4 separate regions of the Homo sapiens genome follow, and all the other regions are linked to region 1. Evidence: promoter capture Hi-C in human tissues and cell types (Jung and others, 2019). All regions are on one chromosome and are shown on one strand. Each heading gives the region's core, a stretch centred on a gene start or on the middle of the fragment in contact. The rest is flanking DNA. Distances are from core to core; before and after follow the strand shown. Region 1 overlaps ZNF582 (zinc finger protein 582). Region 2 holds the start of ZNF773 (zinc finger protein 773). Region 3 holds the start of ZNF17 (zinc finger protein 17). Region 4 holds the start of ZNF548 (zinc finger protein 548).

Region 1 (7,417 bases), core at 1,566-4,065:
ATGGCTTCCAGCTCCATCCATGTCCCTGCAAAGGACATGATCTTGTCCTTTGACCATTTTTCTAAAGGAATTTGTATCGGTTTGTTTGAATTCTGGAGTCAGTTAACAAGTACTTATTAAGCTTTTATTATGCACCATGGAATATGCCACAGTATACATTGATGAGGCAGGTGGACATTATCCTTGCTTTCATGGAACTTACACTGCAGTGGGAAAATAGACATGAAATCATACACACTGGACATGAGCTAATATGTGAAAGAAAAAGAACAGGTTCAGTCAGGGTGCATGGTAGGGCCAATGGCCTCTTCAAGGATAAGGCATTTCAGCTGAGACATGGAAGGTGTGATGTAGCTGGGGAATACCAGTTGTAGCCAATGAGTGTGAAGGACCTGAGCAGGGAGCCCTTGGTACCTCTGAGATAATGGATGGCCCTTGTGGCTGAGGTCAGTGAGCAAAGGGAGGAACACAGAGATACACTAGGGGCCGGGCATGGTGGCTCATGCTTATAATCCCAGCACTTTGGGAGGCTGAGGCGGCCAAATCACTTGACCAGTCTGGCCAACATGGTGAAACCTCGTCCCGACTAAAATCACAAAAATTAGCCGGGTGTGGTGGCACGTGCCTATAATCCCAGCTACTTGGGAGGCTGAAGCAGGAGAATCGCTTGAACACGGGAGGCGGAGATTGCAGTGATCCGAGATCGAACCACTGCGCTCCAGCTGGGGCAACAGAGAGAGACTCTGTCTCAAAAAGAAAAAAAAAGATACGCTAGGAAAGGCAACCACGTTATGAAGTTTGGGTTCTGCACTGTGGGCAGAGGGAAAGCACTGTAGAAATAGAGGCAAGCCATGATTTTATGGTCCACCTGGAGAGGATATAAATATTGTGCTTCTCACAAATTATTCACCTGCTAGTTTCAGAAGTCATTGATAGTTTTCTCTTGGATCAGATATGATTAATAGTTACAAAATAGTGATTTTTAAAAAAACTTTATTCTTATTTATTAGATCACATACTCCTGTAAAGAAGAGCTTTCTCCCTTTCACCATTTGTTTCTTCATTTATATCATATGGATTAATAGTAGGTGGCATATTTTTTCTCATTTCCAGGTCAGAATAAAATAAATCTTGTTTTATCCTGTAACAGATTATTACCCATTATCATTATTTATCACAACGTTCATAGTTTTCCAGACTTGCCCAGTGACACCCTTTCAAACTGGCTCCTGGGTTCTTTGGACATAATCCCCCCCCCCTTTTTTTATAAGCACGTTTTTAACTTTTTTAGTTTCAACAATTCAGTAAAAGCTAGTTAACATAAATACAGAAGAAGTCCACACAATTGACATCCGTGTACATAAATGCAAGAATGCCAAACCTCACATGAACCAAAAAGTATCAGCTCTTACAATGTTGACTATTTAGCTATGACTAGTAGGTCATAAATCTTCGCATAAGCAAGGGTACACATTCAAATGTTTTTTAAAACTAAGAATAAAACAATTTTATGTTTCTAAAAGGAGAAGCATAAAAGTCAATCTGTCGAAGAACATAAGGATGTGATAGAAAAGAGATTTGCGTGGGCACAAAGTTAATACACTGTGTTAATACTTTTACATATTAAAATCCCTCTGCAGCCAGGCGTAATAACTCATGCCTGTAGTCCCAGCTACTCAGAAGGCTGACAGAGGAGAATCACCTGAGCCTAGGAGTTTGAGGTTGTAGTATAATATGATTGTGCCTCTGCACTCCAGCCTGGGCAACAGAATGAGACCCCATCTCCCCTGCAAAAAAGAAAGAGAAAGAGAAATACTTTGGAGGCAAACTTTATATAGAACGTTTGTATATAGTTTTTTTTTAAGTCATCAGTGTCATACTTAAACTAAAATGCAGATTGTGTTTTTGTCTCCAAACTGATTGTAATACTTTTGAGTCCAATCAAAACACCTCAGAAACATCCAGTTACTGTTGATTACAATAAATGTGACATGCTGACAGAATTTAAGAAGGTACAGTTTTTCACTGGTGAGAGCAGTAAAAGCTTGGTAATTTTCAATAATGTTGGGATCACTACAGTGAATAGATCTGCAGAACAACATATCTAAAACCCAGACAAATGTTAGGAATACTGGTTCTGTTGAATAAATGACCAATGTTTTTATAGAAATACGTAACATAGAATTCCCTCCTGCTCTTTCACCCTCAATAAATGCTATAAAGTGCATTCACAAAGAGCCATATTAAGATAAAGCTACTGCACAAAATACAGCACTCATATATACTGAAATGAGTAGTATCACACTGGAGTTTAATTGTGCACATTTTATATACCAGTATAGCAACATCCTTAGCCAGAAGTCTCAACAGAATTATCATGAACATAAACGTTTAAGGGTTATATACATATATCAATTTAAAGTATGAAAAGGTGCATTTGAACTTCATGGCAACATTTAAAAATGATATCCTTGTTAGCACATCACCTTGAATCTATGATGTATGATTCAGCAAATTAGGACAGAATCAAATTCTCAGCAAAAAGTACTTTGAGGCTGGGGATGGTGGCTCACGCCTGTAATCCCAGCACTTTGGGAGGCCAAGGCAGGCGGATTGCTTGAGCCCAGGAGTTTGAGACCAGCCTGGGCAATATGGCGAAACCCCATCTTTACAAAAAAGCACAAAAATTAGCTGAGCATGGTGGTGCCCACCTGTAGTCAAGCTATATCTGAGTCTCTTTAAGTCAACTGGGGTTGGTTGCTATAAGTACAGTAAAACCTGCCACTGTAGCTGAAATAATGTACCAGGTAGAATCACAGTCCATTATAGCATTCAGCTTTTTCATGCAGTTTGAATAATCAGCAAAGTATGTTGCTCTAGAAGGACCCACCCTCAATCAACTGGCCTAATCCTCTAAACAAGGAAAAAAGCCCTTCTTTTTCCAAGGTCACCTTTAAGAAATGAAAAGGTTCAGGTAAATGCATGACATTTAAGAAATTTAAGAAATGTCATTCAGTTGATAATGGGCTTCAGCCATGGCGTTCAACTAAACTTCAGATATAAAAAACACCATGGTGTTCAGCTAAACTTCAGATATAAAAAGCTTCACAGAGGAAGACAGCAGCCATGTCATTCTAACTTCTAGCGGACACATGAGAATAGCTGCCACTGTACCAGCATATTCCTCTGGTTCATTCTCCTGCATGTCCTCCAGGCACTGAGGCAGGTTGCAGATCCAACCACACACTTCCAACACCACTTTTATTTTTATTTTTTAAAACTGTGGTAAAATACAAGATTTACCGTGCTCACCATTTTCAAGTGTACAGTTCAGTAGTGTTAAGTACATTCACACTGTTGTACAACCATCATCACCGTCCATCTCCGGAACTCTTTTCATCTTGAAATCCCCATCATCTTTTTAAAATTCACTCTTTTGGGGGCATAATTTATGGTCAATAAAATGCATTTTTAAAATGTGCTATTAATGAGTGTTGACAAATTTATACACCCACATAACCATCACCTCAATCAAGATAGCGAACATTTCCATCAACCCAAAAAGTTCCCTTGTGCTCCCTCCTGCACAGTCCGTCAAACCAATGATTTGCTTTGGTTTCTGTCACTCTATATTTGTCTTTTCTAGAGTCTCACAGAAACATTTACTGTCTTAAAAAATATTGTTCAATAGTGATTCTGACCCACACCAACTCTTTTTTTTTTTTTTTTAAAGTCTCCCTCTGTCACCCAAGTTGGAGTGCATTGGCGTGATCATAGCTCTCTACAGCCTCTAACTCCTGGGCTTAAGCAGTCTTCTTTTCTCAGCTGGGACTACAGGCATGTGCCACTGCAGCTGGCTAATTTTTAAAAATTATTTTGTAGACATGGGGTCTTGCTGTGTTGCTGAAGCTGGTCTCAAACTCCTGGCCTCAAGTGATTCTCCCTTCTTGGCTTCCCAAAGCACTGGGATTACAGGCATGAGCCACCATGCCCAGCCCCACACTAACATTTTAGAATCACTTTTATAACCTCTCTTATTGCCTCCCTCATCTCATGTATGTTATTTTCCTTTCACTGTTCTACTTGTCCATTTTATAATTGCTTAGCTACATTCAAGAGTTAATAGGCATTGAGTCTAAACCCTCCAGTTCTTATTTTAGTTCCTTTATCTGGAAAAAAAAAGAAGCCAAACATATTCGCTTTTTTTCATTCTTAGTATTGGAGTCCAGATATGATACCAAGGAATTATTTCCAAAGCAGCATGTTTATGAAGTCGAATCACCCCAATGGGAGATAATGGAAAGCCTTACAAGTTATGGTCTTGAGTGTTCAAGTTTCCAAGATGATTGGGAATGCAGAAACCAGTTTGACAGACAACAGGGAAATCCAGACAGACATTTCCATCAGATGATCATCAGACATGAAGAAATGCCCACTTTTGACCAGCATGCATCCCTTACTTTTTATCAGAAAATTCATACTAGAGAAAAACCTTTTGGGTATAATAAATGTAGAAAAGACTTCTGGCAAAAGGAACTCCTTATTAATCATCAAGGAATTTATACTAATGAGAAACCCTATAAATGTAAGGAATGTGGGAAGGCCTTTAAATATGGCTCACGACTAATTCAACATGAGAATATTCATTCTGGTAAGAAACCATATGAATGTAAGGAATGTGGAAAGGCCTTCAATTCTGGTTCAAATTTTATACAACATCAGAGAGTTCATACTGGTGAGAAACCGTATGAATGTAAAGATTGTGAGAAGGCCTTTAGTCGAAGCTCACAGTTGATTGAACATCAGCGAACTCACACAGGCGAGAAACCCTATCAGTGTAAGGAATGTGGCAAGGCCTTCAATCGGATCTCACATCTTAAAGTACATTATAGAATTCATACTGGTGAAAAACCCTATGCATGCAAGGAATGTGGGAAAACCTTTAGTCATCGTTCTCAGTTGATTCAACATCAGACTGTTCATACTGGCAGGAAACTCTATGAATGTAAGGAATGTGGGAAGGCTTTTAATCAAGGCTCAACTCTTATACGACATCAGAGAATTCATACCGGTGAGAAACCCTATGAGTGCAAAGTATGTGGAAAGGCCTTTAGAGTGAGCTCACAACTCAAGCAACATCAGAGAATTCACACTGGAGAGAAACCCTACCAATGTAAGGTATGTGGTAGGGCCTTCAAACGGGTCTCACATCTTACTGTACATTACAGAATTCATACAGGTGAAAAGCCATATGAATGTAAGGAATGTGGGAAGGCTTTTAGTCATTGCTCACAATTGATTCATCATCAGGTTATTCACACTGAGAAAAAGCCCTATGAATATAAGGAATGTGAGAAGACCTTGAGTCATGATTCAACTACCGTTCAACCTCAGAGAATGCATAATAGAGAAACACATGTGAATATAATAAATGTAGAAAAGCCTTCCATCAGCAGTTACCCCTTACTAATCATCAGAGAATTTATGTTGGCAAGCAACCATATGAATGGAAGTAATGGGGAAAGCCCATTAGCCTAGGCTAATTGTGACTGTGACTTACTTCTCCCTCTTGGAGAAAGACTTGAAGAATGTAATGCCAGTGACAATGCCTTCATTCAGAGGTAAGCCTTTATCCTAAGTCTGAAAATTCATATCAAAGAAAATTTTATGGATGTAAATTGTTCAGATCATAATTGTCAAAAATGCTGGGAAAGGTTGGGAGAAATTTTATTTCTAACACATTCCAGAACCACATTTTCTAACCACAGTGTAGTAATTTTATCAAGAGCAAAAGTTATAGTTTTCTTACAAGTTAAAAAAACAGCCAGATTATCATTTGCTTAACAAAGAAATCATGCAATTACCATAAATGGTAATGAAAAGAATGAATTGAGAGTTTAACATGCCAAGAGATGTGAAATGTGGCCAAAGAGATGTGAGGGTAAGGGGAAAGCCAAAGCTACACTGGAGGAATTTTTATAGCCTTTGAATGCATGCATATACATGAAAATCTGAAAGATAAACTCATATGCACTAAACATGCTATTCAAGTCTACCAAACATCCAGGCAGTGAAAGAAGAAAGTAACAGAAAATGATGAAATAAAGAGACCATCTTACAATAATCTCAGTTTTTGTTTCTTTCTGATCCAGAAATAATCTAAATTTAGGAGAATATTTCTTAATTTCCACATTGTTACATTGTTTTATGTGACTGGCACAGACAACCATTGGTTGTCATCCCAGCAGCCATACCCAATTCCCCTTGTTATTGGCAGCATCTGTGTCTTGCCTTGGACTCTGAGAATATCAGATGCTAATTTTCCAGTCTCCTGTGCAGCACAGTATGGCCAGTATCTCCCAGTGTTGCTCAGTGGAATCTGCCGGGGCTTCTGGGAAAGATTTTCCTCATTCAGAAGAGACAGGTTTATCATGAAGACTTCCTCCTCTCTCACTTCCTGCTTTTAAACATTTTTATATAAGAACATGATGCCTGAAGCTGCTGCAGCTGTCTTGGAACCAAGAAGAGAAAAAAGTGGACCTCAGAGAAGCTGACCCAGAGCCTGAGAAGACTCAGCTACTAGGCCAATTCTGGAACTGCCTTTTTGATGCCTTGTTATCTGAGAAAAATAAAACTTGATTGCTCAGTTAGTTTTAGTTGGATATTTTGTAAATTCGCAGCCAAAAGCATCCTAAGTGATATAATATCTAATTTAATTTTATTATGGTTGGTAAATGTGGCCTGAAGTTATCTACTTTTTGAATTTTACTCTTTTTTTGGAGATGGAGTCTCGCTCTGTCACCAGGCTGCAGTGCAGTGGCACAACCTCTGCCTCCCGGGTTCAAGCGATTCTCCTGCCCCAGTCTCCCCAGTAGCTGGGACTACAGGTGCACGCTACCATGCCCAGCTAATTTTTGTGTTTTTAGTAGAGATGAGGTTTCACCATGTTGGCCAGGATGGTCTGGATTTCCTGACCTTTGTGATCCACCCGCCTCGGCCTCCCAGCACTTCCTATAAGTGCTGGGATTACAGGCATGAGCCGCTGTGCCACCCAGTTTGACTGTGTGTGTGTGTGTGTGTGTGGTTAAATACAAGATTGATTTCTGTATACCATGAACATTGAAAAAATATGTATTCTGCATTTTTGGATACAAGTTTCTAAATAAGTCCATTAAGCCACTAGATTGCAATAGTAAAAATCTCCATGTTTTCATATAATTTGGTATGCTGGATCAGAATTTCCTAAAAAAATGTTGCCAACACCTTGAGTTTCCAGACATTTACGCTTTTTAATTTATATTGTTTGACTTACAGGGACATACTACTAACCCTCTATTTATGAATTATACCTTTATCTTTACATAATATCCCATTTTGCCTAGTGCAGGGTATAAAAACCAAATCCAGCCCGCTACCT
Region 2 (7,417 bases), core at 1,509-4,008, 1.1 Mb before region 1:
AAAACAAAACAAAAAAAACGCAGACTTCAACCACATCTCCTACGTCCACAGCCACCACTCTGGTCCAGCACTCACACAGACTACTGTAGTAGCCTCTTTGCTGGACTCCCAGCCTCCACCTTTAACCCTACAGGTGTTCTCAAAGCAGAAAAAGCTTGTTAAGATTGGGCCGTAATCCCTGTGTAGCCTTCCCCATTTCCATCCTTCCTGATATCCAGGAAAAAACAAACAAACAAAAATACAAACAATAGAGGCCCAGCTCCTCAGCCAACCACTTCAGGTCTGCCTTATACCTGCTGATGCTTCCCCCAGTCATAATGGAGATCTAAGGTTGCCTAAGCATTCCCAGCTCAACCTTACCTCCACGTATTTTCTAATGTTGATCACTATGCCTTCTAAATCTCCTGTCATTGGTTGCCAGAAATGAGAACCTCTCCATATAACATATAATCTGGGCCAGGCGTGATGGCTCATGTCTATAATCCCAGCACTTTGGGAGGCAGAGGTGGGCGGATCACCTGAGATTGGGAGTTTGAGACCTGCTTGACCAACATGGAGAAACCCCGTCTCTACTAAAGATACAAAATTAGCCGGGCGTGACGGCACGTGCCTGTAATCCCAGCTACTTGGGAAGCTCAGACAGGAGAATCGCTTGAACCTGGGAGGTGGAGGTTGCGGTGAGCCGAGATTGTACCATTGCACTCCAGCCTGGGCAACAAGAGCTAAATTCCGTCTCAAAAATAAATAAATAAATAATAATATGTAGTCTGGACTCAGGACCCTGACTGTATGACCATTTTGCAGGGAACTCAAATGGAAGGGGAGGGAGAATAGCCAGCAAGGAGTCCCAAGACACCATAATTCTGAAGACCATGTAGGTAGGAGTTGAGGAGGGTGAGGGCCTGAGACATCCTCCACTTACCTTCTCATGGTCTATAACTAACTCTGAAGTCACAAGAACCTATGGAAAATCAAGACCATGAGAACCAGACAGTGATGTTACCAAAGGATCATCCAAGCCCCCTCGTCTAGCCTGGAGTCAGGTGTGCCTGACTATCTGCAATCTGGGCTTTGGTTCTTAGTGATGCCTCTTACCTGTTGTGTGCCCTTGGAAAAATGCTCAACTTCCCTGTGCCTTGGTATTGCCATCTGCAACATGGCAATAATGGTATTCACTCAATAGGACTATTGTTTGTATCAAACTCATTCTTATGTGTCTAGGACTAAATATCAACTCTTACTGTACACATAATTAATGCTTCTGTCAACATTTTCAGTGCAAATAAACTGGTAGGTTTTCAAAATGTGGGTTTCTGCCTGGGTGCAGTGGCTCAAGCCTGTAATCCCAACACTTTGGGAGGCCGAGGTGGGCAGATCACAAGAGCAGAATTCTGTCTCAAAAAAAAAAAAAAAAGAAAGAAAAAGAAAGACAATGTGGGTTTCCTTTTGGCAATCTGGCTGCCTGCTATATACTCCCCTGAAGACCATCCTGCTGAGAGCCCTCCCTTCTACTGGAGCAGTTGATCATCCCACCTGTGCTGATAGCTAGGGAAACTTAGGCACCAAAGGTGCTGCTCCACCAGCCTGGCTGACCTTTCCTTTTCTCCATATGGACTGGACATGAGGAACTACTAAGCCTGGAGTGGCAAACCTATATACTACCCAACACTGCGGTCTCCATCCAGTCCTGGGTGTTCATACTCTATAACCCTCCATTCCTGCAGGCACCAGACAAAATCACTTCGGACCACGAAACTCCAGGCTGTAGAGGCTGCCCCATCCTACAGGCCCATCTCTCCCTTCCCTCACCTCAGGGACCATCTGAAAGAAAACTTTAAGATTCTCCCTCCTAAATACGAGCCCCAGGCCTTCCAGCTGCTCATGTGGACATGACACCTCCACTCTGGGACATCTCAGGATCACCATGCCCAAAACCTATTCCCTGCACAGCCTTACCCATCTCCATCCTTCCTGATATTCAGGAACAAACAAAAATACAAATAAAAATCCAGAATGGCTCTTCATTCCCTACTTTCTTTCACAGTCACATCTGATGCAACAGGAATTCCCGTCTGTTCAGTTTTTGAAATCCATCCAAGATCTGATCACTTCCCCTCCTCTGTGGCCCAGTCCCAGTAGACTCTCCACTAGTCTACTGAATTTACCTACTCACAGGTCTGTCTTCACCCGCCTCACCCCCACCCCAGTCTGTTTTGACTTGAAGGGCCTTTGGCAAACTTTGAGAAACAGATCTTGTCACTCTTCTGTCTCCAGCCCTCCGCGGCCACTGTGGCCCCCTCAGGATGAAAGCGCAGCTGCTCGGGCTGTCGCTCGACACGCGCCTCGTCCCTTCCCAAGCTGCCCACTACAGACACCAGGAGGCCTCAGGTTCGGGACTCGCTGAATGCGCCTCACATCTTTGCGAGCCGGGCCCCTTGCCCTCCATTGCCACCCCATCACACTGCGTGTCAGAAACGGGACGCCGCCCACGAACGCCCCACAGTTCTGCACCCGGGGACCTGAGCAGGCGGCCCTCACAGGGCTTTAGGATTCGGGGGAGGCCGGGAGGACGCGGCGCTCACCTGAGCGGGGTCCCTCAGCGTGGCCGCCGCCATCGGAGCCTGTGGCGGTGAGACAACGACCGAGGAAAGGGCCCGGGCCACCCTGGGCGCCGCCACCGAGCCTCAGACCCGCCTCTGAGCTGCGAGAACACAGCGCGTCCCCACCGCGCTTTCCGGAGCTGGTCGCCGCAGCGAACAACCAGCTTCCGGCAAGCTGAGTTCTCTTGAGGGCAGCGAAAGCAACCGCCGAGGGGAGACGCCGGAAGTCCCGCCCATTGCGCGTCGCACTCTCGGGTAGACCTCTTTTCATTGGCCAAGCATCGCGGCTCACGGCGCGGCGCCTTCTGGGCAGTGTAGTTCGCGTGGCTCCAAACTTCGAGGAAGTGGGCATAACTTCGGAGATGGAGATTGGAGACGGTAGATGATGGAGATGGAGATGGAGATGGAGATGATGGAGATGATGGAGATGGAGATGATGGAGATAGAGATGATGATGGAGATGGAGATGATGGAAATGGAGATGATGAAGATGGAGATGATGGAGAAGATGGAGATGATGGAGAAGATGGAGATGATGGAGAAGATGGAGATGGAGATGATGGAGTAGGAGATGGAGATGGAGATGATGGAGATGATGGAGATGGAGATGATGGAGATAGAGATGATGATGGAGATAGAGATGATGATGGAGATGGAGATGATGGAGATGGAGATGATGGAGATAGAGATGATGATGGACATGGAGATGATGGAGATGGAGATGATGATGAAGATGGAGATGATGGAGAAGATGGAGATGGAGATGATGGAGTAGGAGATGGAGGAGAAATGAGTGTCGAGAACTCTCGGACTCATCTGGAACCTGTTGTAATTGGAGATGGGCCTGGATTTCAGTTTCCTGCAGCTGATACTCCAATCTTTCCTTCTTTTGAAGGACTTGAAGAGGATCTTCAGGGCCACCATAAAGAGGTTTCACTGGGCAAAGCCACGTATACCTTCCTAAATTTCCTTTGGCAAGGGGACACCCAATATTAATGCCTGATGTATGATAATAAGAAAAGGCTCTGAATTCTGGATGTAGGTGATGAGAGAGTAGGGGAGCCCAAGGATTTACGTTCCTCTTTCACCCCATTCTCATTTGTGTTCTTTCCTTCCTCAAGGACCCAACATTGGTGTAAAGGCACAACAACAGGCAGCAAACCCATAAGCCAACTCCCCCTCAATTTCTCCCCTTCATCCATTTCTGCTCCATATTCCTGTCACAGTTACTATGGGACTGAACGAAGGGGAACGAATGCAGAAATGAAAACAAAGGCAAAATAAATCTGTTTTAAAGAAGGGGTCAGGGGGCTTCTTGCTTCTAGTGAGGAAGGGCCCTGAGCTTCCACAGACCTTCATATTTATTGGGTAGAAAGAGTAGGGAGGTGGTGGCTTACGCCTGTAATCCCAGCACTTTGGGAGGCCAAGGCGGGTGGATCACAAGGTCAGGAGATCGAGACTATCCTGGCTAACACGGTGAAACCCCGTCTGTACTAAAAAATACAAAAAATTAGCCGGGTGTGGTAGCAGGTGCCTGTAGTCCCAGCTACTCGGGAGGCTGAGACGGGAGAATGGCATGAACCCGGGAGGTGGAGCTTGCAGTGAGTGGAGTTCATGCCACTGCACTCCAGCCTGGGCGACAGGGAGAGAATCCGTCTCAAAAACAAAAAAAAAGAAAAGAAAATATCGCTCTGGTTTTGTAATGATAAAATAGAACCTACATATATTTTGTGTTATGCATTCTTGGCATACCTATTTCAATGAATTCTGGTTTTTTGAAATTGTCTCAAATATTCAAAAATTTTTTCCAGTATATTTATTGAAAAACATTCACATATAATTGGACCTGTGCATTTCAAACCTGTGTTATTTAAGGGTCAGCTGTACTGTCATGAAACCACCAACACAGTCATGATAGAGAAAATTACCATTGCCTGATAACGTTTTCCTGTACTCTTTCAGTCAGAACCTTCCCCCTCAGACCGCAGGCTCAATAACCAGTGATCTGCATTCTTTTACTCTAGTTTTGCAGCTTCTTCATTTCATATAAATGGAATCATACTGTATGTCAACTTTTGTGTCTGGCTTCTTCCACTTGGCTCAGGGATTTTCAGATTTATCTATGATATTTTTACTTGTATTCATAGTTTATTCTTTTATGTTGTTGAATGGTATTTTATGTTAAGATATACCATAATTGATTATTCATTCTTCTGTTCACGGAAATTTTAGTTTGTGTGTGTGTGTTTTAAAAACAAATTCTGGTGTTTGGGTTTTATAAATAAAACTGCTGAGCATGCAAGTGTAAGTATTTCTAGAACATATGCTTTTGTTCTCTTGGGGATATCCCAATAGGTAAGATTCCTAAACTATATGGTAAGCTTATGCTACCTTTAAAGCTGCTACACTGTTTTCTGAAGTTGTTTTACTACTTTTGCAACTTTCTTGAAAAGAGATTGACAATAGAGTGTTGTGTGAGTGTATTTCTGGGTTCTCTGTTCTCTTCTGTTCATCTCTGTCCTTTAGCTAATACTGTACTCTCAATTACTGTACGTTTGTATGTCCTAAAGTCATAAAGATTTTCAAACTTATTCTTATTTATAAAATTGTTTTGGCAATTAGTCCAGGCCCTTTGTATTTCCATGTAACTTTTTAGAATACATTTGTAAATTTTTATTTAAAAGATTAGGTTTTTATTAGGATAGTTAAAGGAAAACTGACAACTTCAAAGTATTAAGTCTCAGATTCAGGAACTTCTTGTGTCATTTATTTATGCCTTGTTTAATGTCTCTCAGGAATGTTTTAAAGTTCTTGAACATATTTTGTTAAATTTATTTCTAAATATTTCATATTTTTATGCTATTGTGAAGTACATTTTTTCAGTTGCCAAGCATGTATTTGCTAGCTATATACCAACCTAGTAGAGACACCTACTTTTTATACACTGGCCTTTTTATCTTAGGACCTTGCTAAACTCAATTATTAGATCTAGTAGCTTTTTAGTAGATAATTTCGAATTTTCAACATTATCATGTCATATGTAAATACAGACAGTTTGGGTTCTGCCTTTACAATCATTAGATTTTTTTTTTAATGAGAAGTGATGAATGTTGACGTATTTATGTTATTCCTAATGTTGGGGAAAATCAGCTTATCAAATATTTGATCACATATATATCAAATGTGCTGTTAGCTGTTTTTCATAGATGTGCTGTATCAGGTTGAAGAAATCACCATCTTGTTTAATTTGTTGCATGTATCATAACCTAGTTTTGAATTTTGTAAAATGCTTTTATTACATTTTGAGATTTTCATTTTAGTCTGCTAATATAGATTAATAAAGAGTTTGAATTGTTGAATCAAACTTGTATTATTGATAAACCTCACTAGGTTATGATTTATTATTGTTTGTATATGGCTGGATTCAATTTGCTAAATGTCTTTTTGTTTTGTTTTAGCATGAGTGCAAGTTTATTTAAAAAGGCTTTAGAACAGGAAAGAAAGGCAAGTATGCTTGGAAGAGACCCAAGGGGGTGATTTGAAGGACGAGTGCCTCAATTTGCTAAAATTTTCTTAAGGCTCTGTGTCTATATTCATGTGATTATTGGTCTATAGTTTTGTTTAATGTCATTGCCTGCTTTAGTGTCCTGTTAATGCTAACTTTCATATAGTCCAGAATTCTTTGAACCTTTGTCCTCTTGGAAGTTTGTATACAATTGGTATTACTTCTTCCTTTTTCATAAAAGTTCTTATATATCCTAGGAATGACCCTCAGCTGATGCCATCAAGAAAAAGGAATCTCAGTCCTACAACCACGAAGAACTTAAATATGCTAACAACTGAAATAAGCAAGAAACAGATCCTCCCTGAGACTCTAGAAAGGAACATAATCATGCCAACACTTTGATTTTAACCCAGTGAGACTTCTGTTATATTTGTGTTGTTTAAACCATAAGTTTGTGGTGATTTGTCAGGATAGCAATAAAAAGCTAATATGTCAACATTATTCTGTGAACATTTATTTATTTTCCAATGCAGTATTTCCTCAAATCATGTTGTACCTTTTCTGCCACAACTTGAAAACAGCCTCTTCTCTAAGGAGTTCTGGTTCCTTTTATTAAAAAATGATATAAACCAATAACTGGGTATTAAATGTGCTCAAAACTACTGGAATGCCATGGCTTGCTAGGCTCTCAGTAAAGATAGGGAATATGTACACATTTATCTATATATTGAATTATTTATTTGTAGTTAAACCTACAAATATTTCAGAAGTTGGATATTTAAAAAGATTCATAAGATTACAGTAGCATACTCACATAAGGCTTTTTTTTTTTTTTTTTTTTTTTTTTTTTTTTTTTTTTTTTTTTGAGACAGAGTCTGGCTTTGTGCCCCAGGCTGGAGTGCAGTGGCGCAATCTCGGCTCACTGCAAGCTCCGCCTCCCGGGCTCACACCATTCTCCTGCCTCAGCCTCCAGGATAGCTGGAACTACAGGCAGCCGCCACCACGCCCAGCTAATTTTTTGTATTTTTAGTTGAGAGGGAGTTTCACTGTGTTAGCCAGGATGGTCTCAATCTCCTGACCTCGTGATCCACCCGCCTTGGCCTCCCAAAGTGTTGGGATTACAGGCGTGAGCCACCGCACTCAGTCAAGGCTTTTATTTATAGGCAAAGATATGGTATAGTAAGAGGATGCAACACCAAATGCACAATGAATAAAATAACAAATGGATAAATTGGGCTCCATAAAATTAAGACAATCTGCTCTAGGAAAGATACTGTTAAGAACTGAAAACAAGGCCAAGCATGGTGGCTCA
Region 3 (7,417 bases), core at 2,102-4,601, 1.0 Mb before region 1:
AATACAAAAATTAGCTGGGTGTGTTGGTTCATGCCTGTAATCCCAGCTACTTGGAAGGCTGAGGCAGGAGAATTGCTTGAACCTGGGAGACAGAGGTCGCAATGATCCGAGATCACATCAATGCACTCCCGCCTGGGCGACAGAGTTAGCCTCTGTCTGGAAAAAAAAAAAAAAACAAGGCCAGGTGTGGTGGCTCAAGCCTGTAATCCCAGCACCTTGGGAGGGCCGAGGCAGGCAGATCACGAGGTCAAGAGATTGAGAACATCCTGGCCAACATGGTGAAACCCCATCTCTACTAAAAAATACAAAAATTAGCCGGGCATGGTGGCGGGTGCCTATAATCCCAGCTACTCGGGAGGCCGGGGCAGGAGAATCGCTTGAACCAGGAAGGCGGAGGTTGTAGTGAGCTGAGATCGCGCCACTGCACTCCAGCCTGGAGACAGAGCAAGATTCTGTCTCAAAAACAAAACAAAACAAAAACAAAAACCTAGACAACCTCAGGCTGCCATTCCATGCCTGATCCCTGCATGCCCCGACCTCCTGCCCTGCTGCTGTGCTCCTTATCCTTGCCAGCTAGAACATTAAGCTACAGTTCTCTAAGCATCCCATCTAAGTCTCACCACCAAGCATTTGAACATTCTAGATCCTGTGTTTGAGATGCCTTGCCAAATCTCAAACCATCAGTTGTGAGAACTAGAACCACTCTATATAACCAGGCACTGAGTTTGGAACCCAGGTCTGGTGGAACTACAGGCTCTCCTTGGACCCAAGGGAGAGAGAAGAAAAGGTGAACAGTCTCAGGATAACACCATTCCCTATATCAGCATGCTGAAACCATCTGGGATGGGTGAAAGCTGGAAACACTCTCCACTCACCTGTCCAGCATCCATAAGCATTGCTGCCACTGCTATGAACCCTGTGGGAAGAGGCAGGCCATGAGGATTAAGACAGCATTGCAGCATCCTACAGGCTGACTGTACAACCACCTCTGGCCCTGCAACTAGAGCAAAGTTATCTGAGGGTACACAGTAAGTCCTCAGGGTTCAGTGTCTTGATGAGGACTGAACTTCCTTAAGTCTCGGTGCCCTTATGTGTAAAATAGAGATTAAAAGGATTGCCAACTAATAGGGCTTATATGGGCATCAAATATAAGTAGTACACACTATGTATCAGCAATTTCTTTCTACTGGATTAAATATTTTTTACATGTTTTCGGTACAAATGACATGGAAGGGTTTTGAAATTTTGGGTGTGTATTTTTCCCACTTCTTACGGTGTTAAGGAAATGTGATACATAAAACTTTCCATTGCAAGCAAATAGAAAAATTAACATTCAGCCGGGCATGGTGGCTCAAGCCTCTAATCCCAGCACTTTGGGAGGCCGAGGTGGGCGGATCACGAGGTGCAGAGATCAAGACCATCCTGGCCAACCATGGTGAAACCCTGTCTCTATCAAAAATACAAAAATTAGATGGGCATGGTGGCGCATGTCTGTAATCCCAGCTACTCGGGAGGCTGAGGTAGGAGAATCGCTTGAACCCGGGAGGCAGAGGTTGCAGTGAGCCGAGACCACGCCACTGCACTCCAGCCTGGCGACAGAGCGAGACTCCGTCTCAAAAAAAAAAAGAAAAAAGAAAAATCAACATTCAACAATTATTAAGTGAATAAATTTAACTATTGGTTACATTCATTTCTAACTGCCGACCTATGTGTACATATTTAGAAGGATACTGGTTCATTAGTGGTTAAATAAATGTTTTATACATTCGGCCGGGCGCGGTGGCTCATGCCTGTAATCCCAGCACTTTGGGAGGCTGAGGCGTGCAGATCATGAGGTCAGGAGATAGAGACCATACTAGCTAACACGGTGAAACCCCGTCTCTACTAAAAATGCAAAAAATTAGCCTGGCGTGGTGGCGGGCACTTGTAGTCCCAGCTACTCGGGAGGCTGAGGCAGGAGAATTGCTTGAACTCGGGAGGCGGAGCTTGCAGTGAGCCGAGATCGCGCCACTGCACTCCAACCTGGGCGATGGAGCGAGACTCTGTCTCAAAAAAAAAAAAAATGTTTTACACATTCATAAATAAATAAGTTGCAGGGAGGGGATAAGCAAGCAGGTCAGTTACTGGTCCCATCAGCAACCAGGCCTGCCTGCTACAAATTCAGTTGCTGGAAGCTTGCTGGAGGCCCTTGACTAGATGTGAGAAAGCCCTACCCCCGTCTGGACCCAATGTCCCCACTAGTCTGGATGACCTTCCTATTGTTCCACAGAGTGGGCCTGGGGGGCTGCTGGGTCTGCAGGTGCAGAAATCTAAACCACCTCACACCTCAGTCTCCAGCCTAGGCCAGTTCCTTAACCCATTCAGAACTCCGTTTTTGCAGATATGAGCCAGAATCCCTCCTATGACAGGTCTGCGCCTTTCTAAAGGTAGCGTCAGGCTTATGGACCCACCCATGATCTGCCCTCCAAAACTCAGCCCTCCAAAATGCAACTCATAATCCTCTCTGAAACCTGCTCCCTAAGCTGACTTCTCCAACTCCATTCTTTCAGATTTTCAGGCCAAAACAAAATCCATGGAATAGACCCTTCACTACCCTCACTGCTACATTTGATGCAGCAGGAAATCCTGTCGACTCTATCTCTGAGATCCATCCAGAATCTCATCACACTTCCCCTCTACTGCAACCCCTCTGGCCCATCCCTACCATAACTCAAGGGGTCTCCTCAGCGGTCCCCTTGTCCTGGTTTAACATCCTGTTTTTCCCAACTTTAAACGTCTACCTCTGGGCATAACCCTTCCTGCACAGCCTTCTACGGCTTTCAGCAGCTCCGCTGCCCTCCCAGGCGAGACTCCGCCTCACCCTCAGCTCCGTGGAGACAAAGACGCTCGGGCTCCCCAGTGCCGCCCGCTCTGCAGCACCTCTAAGCCTCGCACGTGCAGGTCCCTGACAGGAGCTCCCCCGCCTCACAGCACCGCGGACACCGGTACCCCACACAAGAACGCTCCTCTCTTTGGGACACAGGGGCCTGACCTGCAGGGCCCCTCCTCGGGGCTTCGGCACTCGGAGGAGGGATCGGGCGGGGCGCCCTGGGACGCGGCACCCACCTCAGTCAGGTTCATCGGCGCAGCCTCCGCCAGCACAGCCAGGGAAGAGCGGGGCGGGAGCGGCAGTGACCTGGACGCTGACAGAGGCACCAACGCCTGCAACCGATTCAACCGAGCCTCACTCTAGCCTCTGTACAACGGGGAAACCTTTTCTCGCGTTTTTCCGCTTTTTCACCTCAGTCTCGACTCAGCCTGAAGGTGAACAGATCCCAACGCAGCCATATTGACAACCCCAGGAGGCGTTGCAGGAAGTCCCGCCCACACGCATTGCGAACCCCCGTAGACGCCGCTCTGCTAGGCCTTCATTGGCTACACTCGCTGCTTGTGTCCGCCGCTGTGTCTTTTGGGTAATGTAGTTCCCAGGCCACTGCCTGCCCCGCTTCTGAACTTAAGTTAACTCGCGTTCAGGATGAAAGCCAGGAGGATCCTCCTGAGGCTTTGAGAAATGCAGTTGCGGGGCTCCAAGGACGTGGAGGGGCTTCATTGGCTTTTAAACGGCAAGCATCCAGATTTTCCCGGAAGGCAGTCTAGAACAAGTCAGAGAAATGTTTCAGAGACCTGTCCTTTCAGATTCTGTAAAGCACAGCAAGTTCCCAAAAGACGAACATCCGAAGGAACATGGCCAACCATAAAGAACTGGTCTTCCACGCATAGCGGTCAGCTCTTTTGTGCTTGCCAAATACACACAGAACGAAGCTCTGGAGACTGTTTTATGATCTTCAATGTGCTCTGCTGGGCACATTGAAAAGACCCAGACATGGCATGATGGGGAGTTTGAGGAGTAATATCTTTCCTTTCTGAATAATCAGTTATTGTCTTTCAGCCTACCCAGCAACACTTTATTCACATGATACTTATTACTTTATATCTGAGATATTTTCCACTTATTTTAAGAGACTGAAACCTAACTGAAAAGGAAAAGCGACTTATCTACCATTATCTGCCAGAATAGTGTGGCCTTCCACCAGTCAAAGCCCTTGTGCAAAGAAAGCATCTTACTCCTGAGATAAAGGTTTGGGAATGCATGATCTCATCTCATTAGTGGAAAGTGATTTATCATTTCGCCTGAAATTGTATCAACAGTGTCTGCACAGGGAGTTGAAATTGTCTCTGAATAACTCTTGTGAAATGGCTATTACTGAAACTATTAATGACGATTATGTAGATATCCAAAGAAAGTGGCAAAAATAGTTATAGAGAAACATATTTGTGATAGGAGGAAAAAAGCTAAGGTTGTCCTGGAACCTTGGACACACTCAAGTTTGGTGTCCAAAATCTGATTCTTTTTCAAACTTGAAAACATTGTGCATTAACAGCTTGAAGGGAGAGGTAAAGACTATATATTAAAAGAGTTACCAGAAAAGTAAAGCTGAATAGGGAAACTGTGCTGTCGTATTTATTACTCTAACATATTTGATGAACACTCATTCGATGCCAGGTACAATACTAAGTGCATGGGACACATTAGGAGTAGGGTTGCTAGCTGTCTGTGGTCCTCTAAGACACGTAAGACGTATTTAATGAATTAGTCCTCAGTCCTGTATTGACCTTGTCAGGTCACTTTAAATGTCCTGTATTCCGCTTTTTACAATAAATTACAAAACCTCAGAAGTTAGAGCTATTTTTCTACCACTATAATTGTAAATTAAATCACTTAGCAGCTATGTTAGCTGAAAATCATACCCCCACAAATAAAGATATGGACATAGTCTTGTGATCTCTCCTGCAGAATTGGTGAGGGAAAAATAAAATGGAGCACTGAGATATTCAGTAAAGGAGAAGACTGTTTTTTGGCCAAAGTCTTGAAATTTGGTTTATCAAATTACAAAAAGAAGGAAGGAAGGAGAGAGAAAGAAGGAAACGAAAGGAAAAGAAAAAACCACCCAACTGAAGGTCTGGAAGAGTTAAAGCTGTTCAGTAGTGCCAGCTACATGGAAGTTAAGACGGGAGGATTACTTGAGTTCATAAGTTCAAAACCAGTTTGGGCAATATAGTGAGATCCCCGTCTCTGAAAAAACTGAAAATTAAAAACATGTTAATCATTTACCAACAATACATCCCTACCATCCTACAATTCTATTTCTAGATATTTACCAACAGAAACTAAACAAACTTTTTTTTTCTTTTTTTGAGATAGAGTCTCTCTCTGTCGCCCAGGCTGGAGTGCAATGGCACGATCTCGGCTCACGGCAACCTCTGCCTCCCAGGTTCAGGCGATTCTCCTGCCTCAGCCTCCTGAGTAGCTGGGATTACAGGCATGGCCACCACGCCTGGCTGATTTTTGTACTTTTAGTAGAGACGGGGTTTCACCATGTTGGCCAGGCTGGTCTTGAACTCCTGGCCTCAGGTGATCCACCCGCCTCAGCCTCCCAAAGTGCTGGGATTACAGGCATGAGCCACCTCGCCTGGCCCAAACATCCATCTAACACTTGGTGACAGGCCACATATCTTTGTGTATGTGTATGTATATATATATATATATATGGAGAGAGGGAGAGAGAGAGAGTCTCGCTCTGTTGCCCAGGCTGGAGTGCAGTCACACGATCTCAGCTCACTGCAACCTCTGCCTCCTGGGTTCAAGCAATTCTCCTGCCTCAGCTCCCGAGTAGCTGGGACTACAGGTGTGCACCACCACACCTGGCTAATTTTTGTATTTTTAGTAGAGACAGGGTTTCACCATGTTGGCCAGGCTGGTCTTGAACTCCTGACCTCATGATCCACCCGGCTTGGCCTCCCAAAGTGCTGGGATTACAGGCATGAGCCACCATGCCCAGCCCTTTCAACATATTTTATTAGGTGTTTCGCTACCTTTTGAAATTCCACTTTCATGTAATGAGCGGCTGTATGGTGACAATGGCCCAGGAGGCTCTGGACAGTGAGTGGACATTCTCTCCTTATGTCCCCACAAGGACCTCGTCTTGTTCAATGTTCCGACGTGTTTCCACTCATTCCTGTTCCTCACACTTCATCACCCCACCACTTGTAGACAACAATTCTAAAGGTCTGTTGTGTGTTTTTGTATTTACATGTGTTTTAGAAAGAGGAGCACTGTTACTTTTTGTGTAGTTTAATTGTACTGTACTATAGACTTCTTTCTCCCTTTGTTGGTACTCAAAATGTGTGTTTAATATGTATATATACTCCTGTGTCAAAGTCTACTTAAATGCTAGTAACTGCCCTGTTGTACTTTAGTGTGGACATTCAGTCTTCTACTTCACTCATAGATGTCTTTGGTCCTCCTCTTACACTTAATGCTACAACATATTGTCTCCATGTCCCTGCTGCCTTGAACAGTATTGTGAGAAAACTTCTCTCACATAAGAATTTATGGACTTGACTGAGAGATATACCAGAAACAGGCTTTCTGTGTCACATGATATTCTAGAAAATCATTTTTTTTACAGTACCTGTGCAGATTGCTTTATGAAACTGCTACAGTCTTTGACTCTTCCATGAAATATACATGATTGCAGCTACATCACCCCATATTTCTTTCCATAGTATAGTAATTTATAGAACTTAAAGTAACATGCAATAATATCTAATTTGCATTTCTCTGACACCGAGTTTGAATATCCATTCATATTCTTGATAACCATCTGATTTTTCTCTCTTGTTTATTGTATGCTCGTGCTTTAGTTCATTTCTAAGATCTCTGACTTTATTCCTTTAAGAAGAATCTGAAACTTTGGCTGGGCACAGTGGCTCATGCCTGTAATCCCAGTACTTTGAAAGGTGGAGGTGGAAGGATCATTTGAGTCTAGGAGTTCGAGACCAGCCTGGGCAGTATAGTGAGATCCCCGTCTCTACCAAAAAAGTTAAAAATTAGCCAAGCATGGTAGTGCGCACTTGTAGTCCCAGCTACTGGGGAGGCTGAATGGGAGGATTGCTTGAACCTGAGAGGTGGAGGCTACTGTGAGTGAAGATCACGCCACTACACTCCATCCTAGGTGAAAGAGACCCTGTCTCAATAAAAAAGCAAAAAAATCTAAAACTCGCATGCCTAAAACCGTAAAACTGGGCACATTTAGATATTTTAAATGTCTTCTCTGAGTCCCTGAACTCACTCAGTTTTGACTCATAATCTTTATGAAATAGAAAGCTTGAAATTTAGATGTAATTATATTAATTTGTTTTTTCATGTAACATTTTGTGCACTCTGGGATCAAAGAAAGACTTATCAGAGGGTAAATTCTGAGATCATTTTGTAGGTCTCACTCCAAAATTGTTTCCTTTCCATTTTCTATTTCTTACTCCCTGTTGACCTTTGTTAATTTTAATTTTTTCTGACATGAGTAGCTTAGTTGGAGGA
Region 4 (7,417 bases), core at 2,017-4,516, 1.0 Mb before region 1:
CATGTAGAGAAGGGGAAAAAGCAGTGCTCTGATCTGGAACCCAGCTACTCCACCAGCCTCAATAACATTTCTCTTGTTCAACAGAGAGTGGCCCTGAGGGTCAACCAAGCCTGCAGGTGCAGGATCGAAACCACCTCACACTTCAGCCTCCATCCCAGGCCATATGCTTACCCAGTCCAGGCCTCCCTTTTTACAGATGCAATCCAGAATCCCTGTTATGCCAGGTCTGCACCGTTCTGGACAGAGTATGATGTCTGTGGAGCCACCAATGGTCTGGCCCCCAAGTCTCAGCCCCCTGTTCTCTCAACACAGAGCCCACCTGAAATGACAACCTCAAGATTTCCCTCAAATTAAGTCCATCTGACTTCAAATTATACTACAAGTTGTTAGTAACCAAAACAGCATGGTAATGGATAGAAATAGACACATAAGGTGTACAGCTCAGTGGTAAAGCATTTGACTGCAGAAATAGACACATAGATCAATGGAACAGAACAAAGTTCCTAGAAATAAAGCCACATATCTATAGCCAACTGATCTTTGAGAAAGGCAACAAATATGCACACTACGGAAAGGACACACTTTTCAATAAAATGTGCTGGGAAAACTGGATTGCCATATGAAAAAGAATGAATCTGGACCAATTTCTCTTGCCATATACAAAAATCAACTCAAGATGAATTAAAGATTTAAATGTAAGACCTGAACGAAGAATACTAAAGGAAAACTCAGGGAAACCCCTTCTGGACATTGGTCTAGGCAAAAAAATTCATGAATAAGACTTCAAAAGCATAAACAACATAAACAAAAGTAGACAGGACCTAATTAAACTAAACAGCTTCTGTATAGCAAAAGGACTAATCAACCAAGTAAATGTACAACCTGAAAAATGGGATGAAATATTTGCAAACTATGCATCTGACAGGGTACTAATATCCAGAATTTACAAAGAACTCAACAACAAACAAACAAAACATAACAAAAAAACAACAACAAAAAATCTCATTAACAGTAAGCACAGGGCTGGGCGCGGTGGCTCACACCTGTAATCCCAGCACTTTGGGAGGCCGAGGCAGGTGGATCACCTGAGGTCAGGAGTTCAAGACCAGCCTGGCCAACATGGTGAAACCCCGTCTCTACTAAAAATACAAAAAATTAGCTGGGCGTGGTGGTGGGCACCTGTAATCCCAGCTACTTGGGAGGCTGAGGCAGCAGAATTGCTTGAACTAACCTGGGAGGTGGAGGTTGCAGTGAGCCGAGATCGCGCCACTGCACTCCAGCCTGGGCGACGGAGCGAGACTCCATTTCAAAAAAAAAAAAAAAAAAAAAACAGTAAGCACAGGGCAGACATTTTTCAAAAAGAAGACACATAAATCGCAAGCAGGCATATAAAAAAATGCTCAACATCATTAATCATCAGACAAATTCAAATTAAAACCACAGTATCTCCTTACACCAGTCAGAATGGCTATCATTTAAATGTCAAAAAACAACTGATGTTGCCCAGGATATGGAGAAGAGAAAAAGGTTACACACTGTTGGTGAGAATGTAAATAAGTACAACCTCAATGGAAAACAGTATGAAGATTTTTCAAATAACTGAAAATAGAACTGCCATTAAATCCACCAATTCCACTACTGGGCATCTACCCAAAGGAAAATAAATCATTACATTAAAAAAAACATGTATTTTTATCACAGCACTATTCACAATAGCAAAGATAGGGAATTAACCAATTATCCATCAATGTATGACTGGGTAAAGAAAATGTGGCATATATATACACAAGGTAATACCACTAGGCCACAAAAAAAAAAAAAAGCATGAAACTATGTCTTTTACAGCAATGTGGATGGAACTGGAGGCCATTATTAAATGAAACAACTCAGAAACAGAAAGTCAAATACCAAATGTTCTCACTTACAAGTGGAAGCTGAATAATGTGTACACATGGACAAAGAGTGTGGAATGACAAACATTGGAGACTCCAAACAGGTAGAAGGATGAGACGAAGATGAGTGATGAAAAATTACTTAATGGATACAATGTACATTATTCAGGCGATGGATACATTAAAAGCCCAGACTTGACCACTATGCAAATATATCCATATAACAAAACTGCACTTGACTCCTTAAATTTATGCAAACAAACAAACAAAAAAAACCCGAGACCGACCTACTCAATCTGATCCTCAGACCATTCTCTGGCCCAGTCCAAGCCCTCCATCCGTCTGGTATCGCCAACCCAATCCCCTTCCTCAGACTCCACACCTTTATGTCCACCTGTCTGTGTGACATATCCATCTTGAGACATTTGAGAATCACCATGTCCAAAATCCAACCTGTGATCTTCTCCCGGAAATCTGCTCTTTATGCTGACTTCCCCAACTCCATTCTTCCAAACGTTCAAACAGAAAACAAAAAACAAAACAAACACTTGAAACGGTTCTTCACTGCCTTTGTTCAGACATAACTGAAGCACCAGGAAAACCTACGGGCCCTATCTTTCAGGCCTATGAAGAATCTCATCACATCTCCCTCTACTGTCACTGGTCCAGCCCCAACCATAATTCTCCTGGGTCTACTGCAGTGGCCTCAGGGCCTTTTCGCGTCTCCCTGTGTCCATTCCTAACCTGGTTTTCCTAACTTGAAACTTCGAACTCTGGACCTGCCCCCTCCAACTGTCCCTCCCTTGACAACCTTCCATGGTTACTGGCTGCTCAGGTTGCCATTCCAAGCGAGAATTCACAAAACCCTCTCTTTCCCGCAGAAACAACACACACCCCTGACGCCCCAACACAGCCCACTCGGCAGCGCCTCCATGCTCTGAACCTGAGGTCCCTAACGGGAGCTCTGAGGCTGCATCAAATCGGCTGATACGGGGACCCCACACAGGAACGCCCCTCTCTTCGGGACAAGGGGCCTGACCTGCAGGGCCCCTTCAGGGGGCTTCAGCACTGGGAGGACCGGTCGGGCGGGGGAGCCTGGGACGGGACACCCACCTCAGTCAGGTTCATCAGCAAGGCCTCCGCCAGCCCAGCCAGGGAAGAGCGGGGCGGGAGCGACAAAGGCAAGACAAGGACGCCACTGTCCCCAGCGCTTGTCAGTTGACTCACTCCCGCCTCTCCGTGGTGGGAACCGAGCCGCTTCTCGCGCTTTTCCGTTCCGTCACTTCGGTGACGTCAGACAGAGCCATAGGCCGAAGTTGGTGAAACACCACACAGAACCAAAACGACCACCACCAGGAGGACGGCGGAAGTCCCGCCCTCCGACGGTGCGCACGCACGCAAACGTCCCCTTCTAAGCCTTTATTGGGTAAGTCGTGCCGCCGAGAGCTGCAGTGTCTTCTGGGTTATGAAGTTTCGACACCGCTTCCGGACTTGTCTTAGAGCGTTGATCAGTCCTTATATGGCAGATAAAGGCCCAGTGGCACTGTCAGGGGAGCTGGGAAACGGAGTCCCCGACTCCAAAGACAGGAGGGGGCTTGGCTTGCTCTTAAAGGCAACATACGGTATTTTTTTGGATTGTAGTATAGGATATTTACAGAAATGTTAGCAACTTATTACTTAAGACTCTATTAAGCACAGCTAATTCCCAATAACTACAGGTCCAAAGAGACACCCCATACCATAAAGGCAGTCTGCCTCTACTCATGCCTGCCAGCCATATTATTGCTTTTCAAATACACATACAGTTACGCTTTGGCGTCTGTTTAGTAAGCTTCAATATGTTTGGTCCAGAAGAAGAAAGAAAGACTACGCAGTTAGGGCTATGGACTGGAATTTGTAGGAAGGATGACAGGAGACGCTGAAGTAGGTTGAAAGGGTGAAGCTATGCCTCTGGATCAAAGAGAATACATCTTACCTGACTGTAGAGTCAGCGATTGTGTTCCTACGAAGGGTGCAACGCTTTTATTCTAATAATACTTACTACTTCATATCTGAGATATTTTCCATTTATTTTAAGAATCACAATCCTATCTGAAAATGAGAGTGACGACCAAAATGAGTGATTGAGGCATAAGTCACAAATCATGGAGGATTACTGGACCAGCCTAAGGGCACATCCAGAAAAATGTAAGTCACAGAAGCATCTGTGGCTGGTTTTTCCAAAGAGGTTCTTAGGAGGTTTAGTATTTATTATACATTTTCCTTAAAAAGGAAGAGGGGTTGGCAGTGAGACAAATGATTACAGACATGTGAAACTTTAGTTAGTGCCCAGTAAATCTACATTTTACATAAGATAGAGTAAACACGTGAGGGGAAAAGGGAATAAAGAAGATGTCTCAGAGAAGGATGAAGGAATGAATAATCTCATCTTCTCTCTGTTCTGTACCTTGGAAGATAAGCTAGTAGTCTTCTGAAAAGGTTGATTTCTATTTAGCCCTTAGGGAAGAAAACCTAATGATTGTAGTGTGGTAGGGGATATAATGAGGTGTGTCTGATTTCCCGTTCCTCTATAGTGGTGAATTCAGCTTCCAAAGTTATTCTAGGGTTCTCATGGTCAAGAGGGCATCCATTCAGTCAGTTAGGGGGTGCTTAGAATTTTATTTTTATTTCTCAAGAGCAGCTGATACATGCCATTTCTGGACAACATTGTCTACCGTTTTCATAGTTGAAGCATATGCACATCTTATCCTCAAAAAAGGTGTGGAATTCCATGATGTTATCTTCTTCCTCAGAAGTGATTTAAAATTTCACCTGTGTTTACAACTGTATTTGCACAGGGAGTCGAAATGTGAAAAACACTTGTGAAATAAAAAAATTACCGAAATCTATTAGTAATTATGTAGGTTATTCCAAAAGAAAAAAAACCAGAAGCCCTAGAGAAATCGATCTGTAATGTGAGAAAAAGATAAGATCTCAATGTTTGAGTGAGAGACAGCAAATTCTGAGAAGTCAGAGAATGAAGTTGAACCTGTGGCTCTGCTGGACACTTGGACACACTATGCTTTTGTTTCCAAAATGTAATTTTTTTACACACTTGAAAACATTGCTCATTAACTGCTTAGAGGGGTAAGTACAGATGATAAACTGAAAGACTTGCCACAGATAAAAATGAATAGAGAAGCTGTGTGATAATGTGTATTTACTTCTCTAGTAAATGTTCAATGAGCACATATGTATTGGGTTTCAGATCAATGATAGGTGCATGGGACACACTGGGAATAGGTTTCCCAGCTGCTATGTGTATACAGGACTGTTCTATGTTTTCTTAGATTCTGTATTTGTCTGTTTGATATTCATTAATCACAGGGTCAAACTAATAGAACCAAAGTTGTTTACTTTTTTTCTTGCAAGCCACTTACTCAAGTGCATGAAACTCATATAAAACCCCCCAACCACAAACACTAAAATGTGTTTTTCCTTCCTGCCCATCGACGGTATCTCTACCTCATCATTCTCTGCCACTTTAGTTATAAAGACATACTTCCAGTTACTCTGTTTTCTCTTTCTGCTTTCCAGTCTCTGTATGTAATAAGGTTTCTTGTGGCCTGTGTGGTGTTCAGTGCCTCTTATTTCCAGGGAACTGTAACATTAATCTTTTCTTTTGATGGCAGTGTCCCCTCTGTGTCATTGCTAATTATTAATTAAGACCTGGGCACAGTTTAAGAATATGACCTATATATAACGATTTTTCCTGAATCCTGTATTGACTTATCAGAATGGCCTACATATCCTACATATCAGCTGGTTGTAATATATTACAAAGAATCACCAGTGGGAGACACATTTTTCTCAGACTGTAACTGGCCGTTAAATTACTCATTGGCAACATGAGTTGAAAATCATATCCTCACAAACAAATATCTAGATAATACTTATGATGTCTTAGTCCAGTTAGCGTTGCTATAAATGAATACCTGAAGCTGGTAATTTATAAAGAAAAAAATGTTTATTTGGCTCAAAATGTTGATGTGTGGAAAGTTTAAAATTGGGCATCTGCATCTGGTGAGGGTCTTCGGCGGGTTCTATTCATGGTGGAAAACGAAAGAGAGCTATAATGCGAAGGAATCATATTGCAAGAGAGGAGGACAGTGGGTGGGGAGTGTATCAGGCTCTTTTCAACAACCAGCTTTCTTGGGAACTAATAGAGTGAGAATTTACACATCTTCAAGTGGGGGTATTCAGGTAGGATCTACCCTCATGACCAGAACACCTCCTATTAGGCCCCACCTCAAACATTGGAAATTAAATTTCAACATGAGCTTTGGAAGAGACAAACATCCAAACCATAGCATATGATTTCTTACAAATTCTGGCTGTTGGGAAACCAAAAATGGGGAATGAGAATTAAGTTGCTGGCTTATGTTCAAGTAAGGAAAAAATTTATCTCTGCCCCAAATCCATAATCATAAACAAGAAACCACCATTAATTAGAGATAACTTGGGATGTGTACCTATGCTTTAAAAGTCAGCTAGTCAGCAAAAGCTTCACCCCAGTAATTAACCAGAAACTTAGCAAATCATTGTTAGGCCAAGATTCTAAAATTTTTCCAATGGGGGTAAGGCCCAGTACTAAAGATGGTCAATCAGTGGCAGCCCCAGGCTGCTGGCAACAACTAATCCACAAGTGCCTCCTGTCAGTAATCCTGTTTATGAAAGCCAGTTGGTAAATGGTTGCATTTACACTAACATACCTGAAAGTCCATCAGTCTTTCAACTCTGCTGCTTCTGAAAGTCCTCAGTCCCTGAAGGCCAGCCTTCCTAAAAGCTCATATAATAGCAGTTTTGGCTTTGTTTGAGGAGACTGCCTGACCACTACAGCTCTGCCCTGCAGACAAATAGGAATATCACTTTTTTTCCCTTGAGATATCAAAATCTATTTATTCTTTTTTTTTTTTTTGAGACGGAGTCTCACTCTGTCGCTGGGCTGGAGTGCAGTGGTGTGATCTCGGCTCACTGCAACCTCCGCCTCTCCGGTTCAAGTGATTCTCCTGCCTCAGACTCTCAAGTAGCTGGAACTACATATGCACGCCACCACGCCCAGTTAATTTTTTTGTATTTTTAGTAGAGACGGGATTTCACCATGTTGGCCAGGATGGTCTCGATCTCTTGACCTCATGATCCGCCTGCCTCGGCCTCCCAAAGTGCTGGGATTACAGGCATGAGCCACCACGCCTGGCCCCATTTATTCTTAATTGAATATAAATTATTACTTATATTTTAATTATATGAATATAATTTAAAAGTTTGCAAGCTTTCAATGGTTCCATCTGTTTGTAATTAGTTATGAGTTTGGATATGAAATGGTAGACTAACTGACCCAGACATACATTGTAAAATCCAACGTTTTCTCCAGTGTTTTCTTTTTTCTTTCTTTTCTTTTTTTTTTTTAAGATACAGTTTCACTCTGTCACCCAGCTGGAGTGCAGTGGCGCAATCTCGGCTCACTGCAACCTCTGGCTCCCAGG

The links. The method cuts DNA at HindIII sites, captures the fragments that hold promoters and counts their contacts. A contact is called where the count stands out against the background at its distance.
Region 2: a contact is called between the fragment with the promoter of ZNF773 here and a fragment that was not itself captured in region 1, in 1 of the 25 tissues and cell types used here (spleen).
Region 3: a contact is called between the fragment with the promoter of ZNF17 here and a fragment that was not itself captured in region 1, in 1 of the 25 tissues and cell types used here (dorsolateral prefrontal cortex).
Region 4: the fragment with the promoter of ZNF548 here is called in contact with a fragment that was not itself captured in region 1 in 2 of the 25 tissues and cell types used here (aorta and stomach).

Annotation. Positions count from the first base shown.
Region 1 is chr19:56,381,984-56,389,400 of GRCh38, reverse strand. It overlaps ZNF582 (zinc finger protein 582), which reads left to right. Exons shown (of 5, transcript NM_001320371.4): 5 at 4,217-6,650. The coding sequence ends at 5,538. It also overlaps the pseudogene SLC25A36P1. Among named protein-coding and RNA genes, the nearest start is that of ZNF582, 7.8 kb to the left of the region's middle. RefSeq lists an enhancer at 4,541-5,740. The HindIII fragment of the contact is 6,001 bases long and covers 1-5,815 here.
Region 2 is chr19:57,495,279-57,502,695 of GRCh38, reverse strand. ZNF773 (zinc finger protein 773) reads right to left here and starts at 2,758. Exons shown (of 4, transcript NM_198542.3): 1 at 2,583-2,758. The coding sequence starts at 2,615. It overlaps ZNF419 (zinc finger protein 419), which reads right to left. Exons shown (of 5, transcript NM_024691.4): 5 at 6,598-7,417. The HindIII fragment of the contact is 9,164 bases long and covers 1-7,118 here.
Region 3 is chr19:57,407,095-57,414,511 of GRCh38, reverse strand. It overlaps ZNF17 (zinc finger protein 17), which reads right to left and starts at 3,351. Exons shown (of 4, transcript NM_001330617.2): 1 at 3,106-3,351; 2 at 876-916. The coding sequence starts at 896. RefSeq lists a silencer at 2,652-2,854 and enhancers at 3,098-3,157, 3,238-3,347. The HindIII fragment of the contact is 3,744 bases long and covers 948-4,691 here.
Region 4 is chr19:57,385,703-57,393,119 of GRCh38, reverse strand. ZNF548 (zinc finger protein 548) reads right to left here and starts at 3,266. Exons shown (of 4, transcript NM_001172773.2): 1 at 3,006-3,266. The coding sequence starts at 3,020. RefSeq lists enhancers at 3,009-3,488, 3,629-3,708. The HindIII fragment of the contact is 10,310 bases long and covers 1-5,079 here.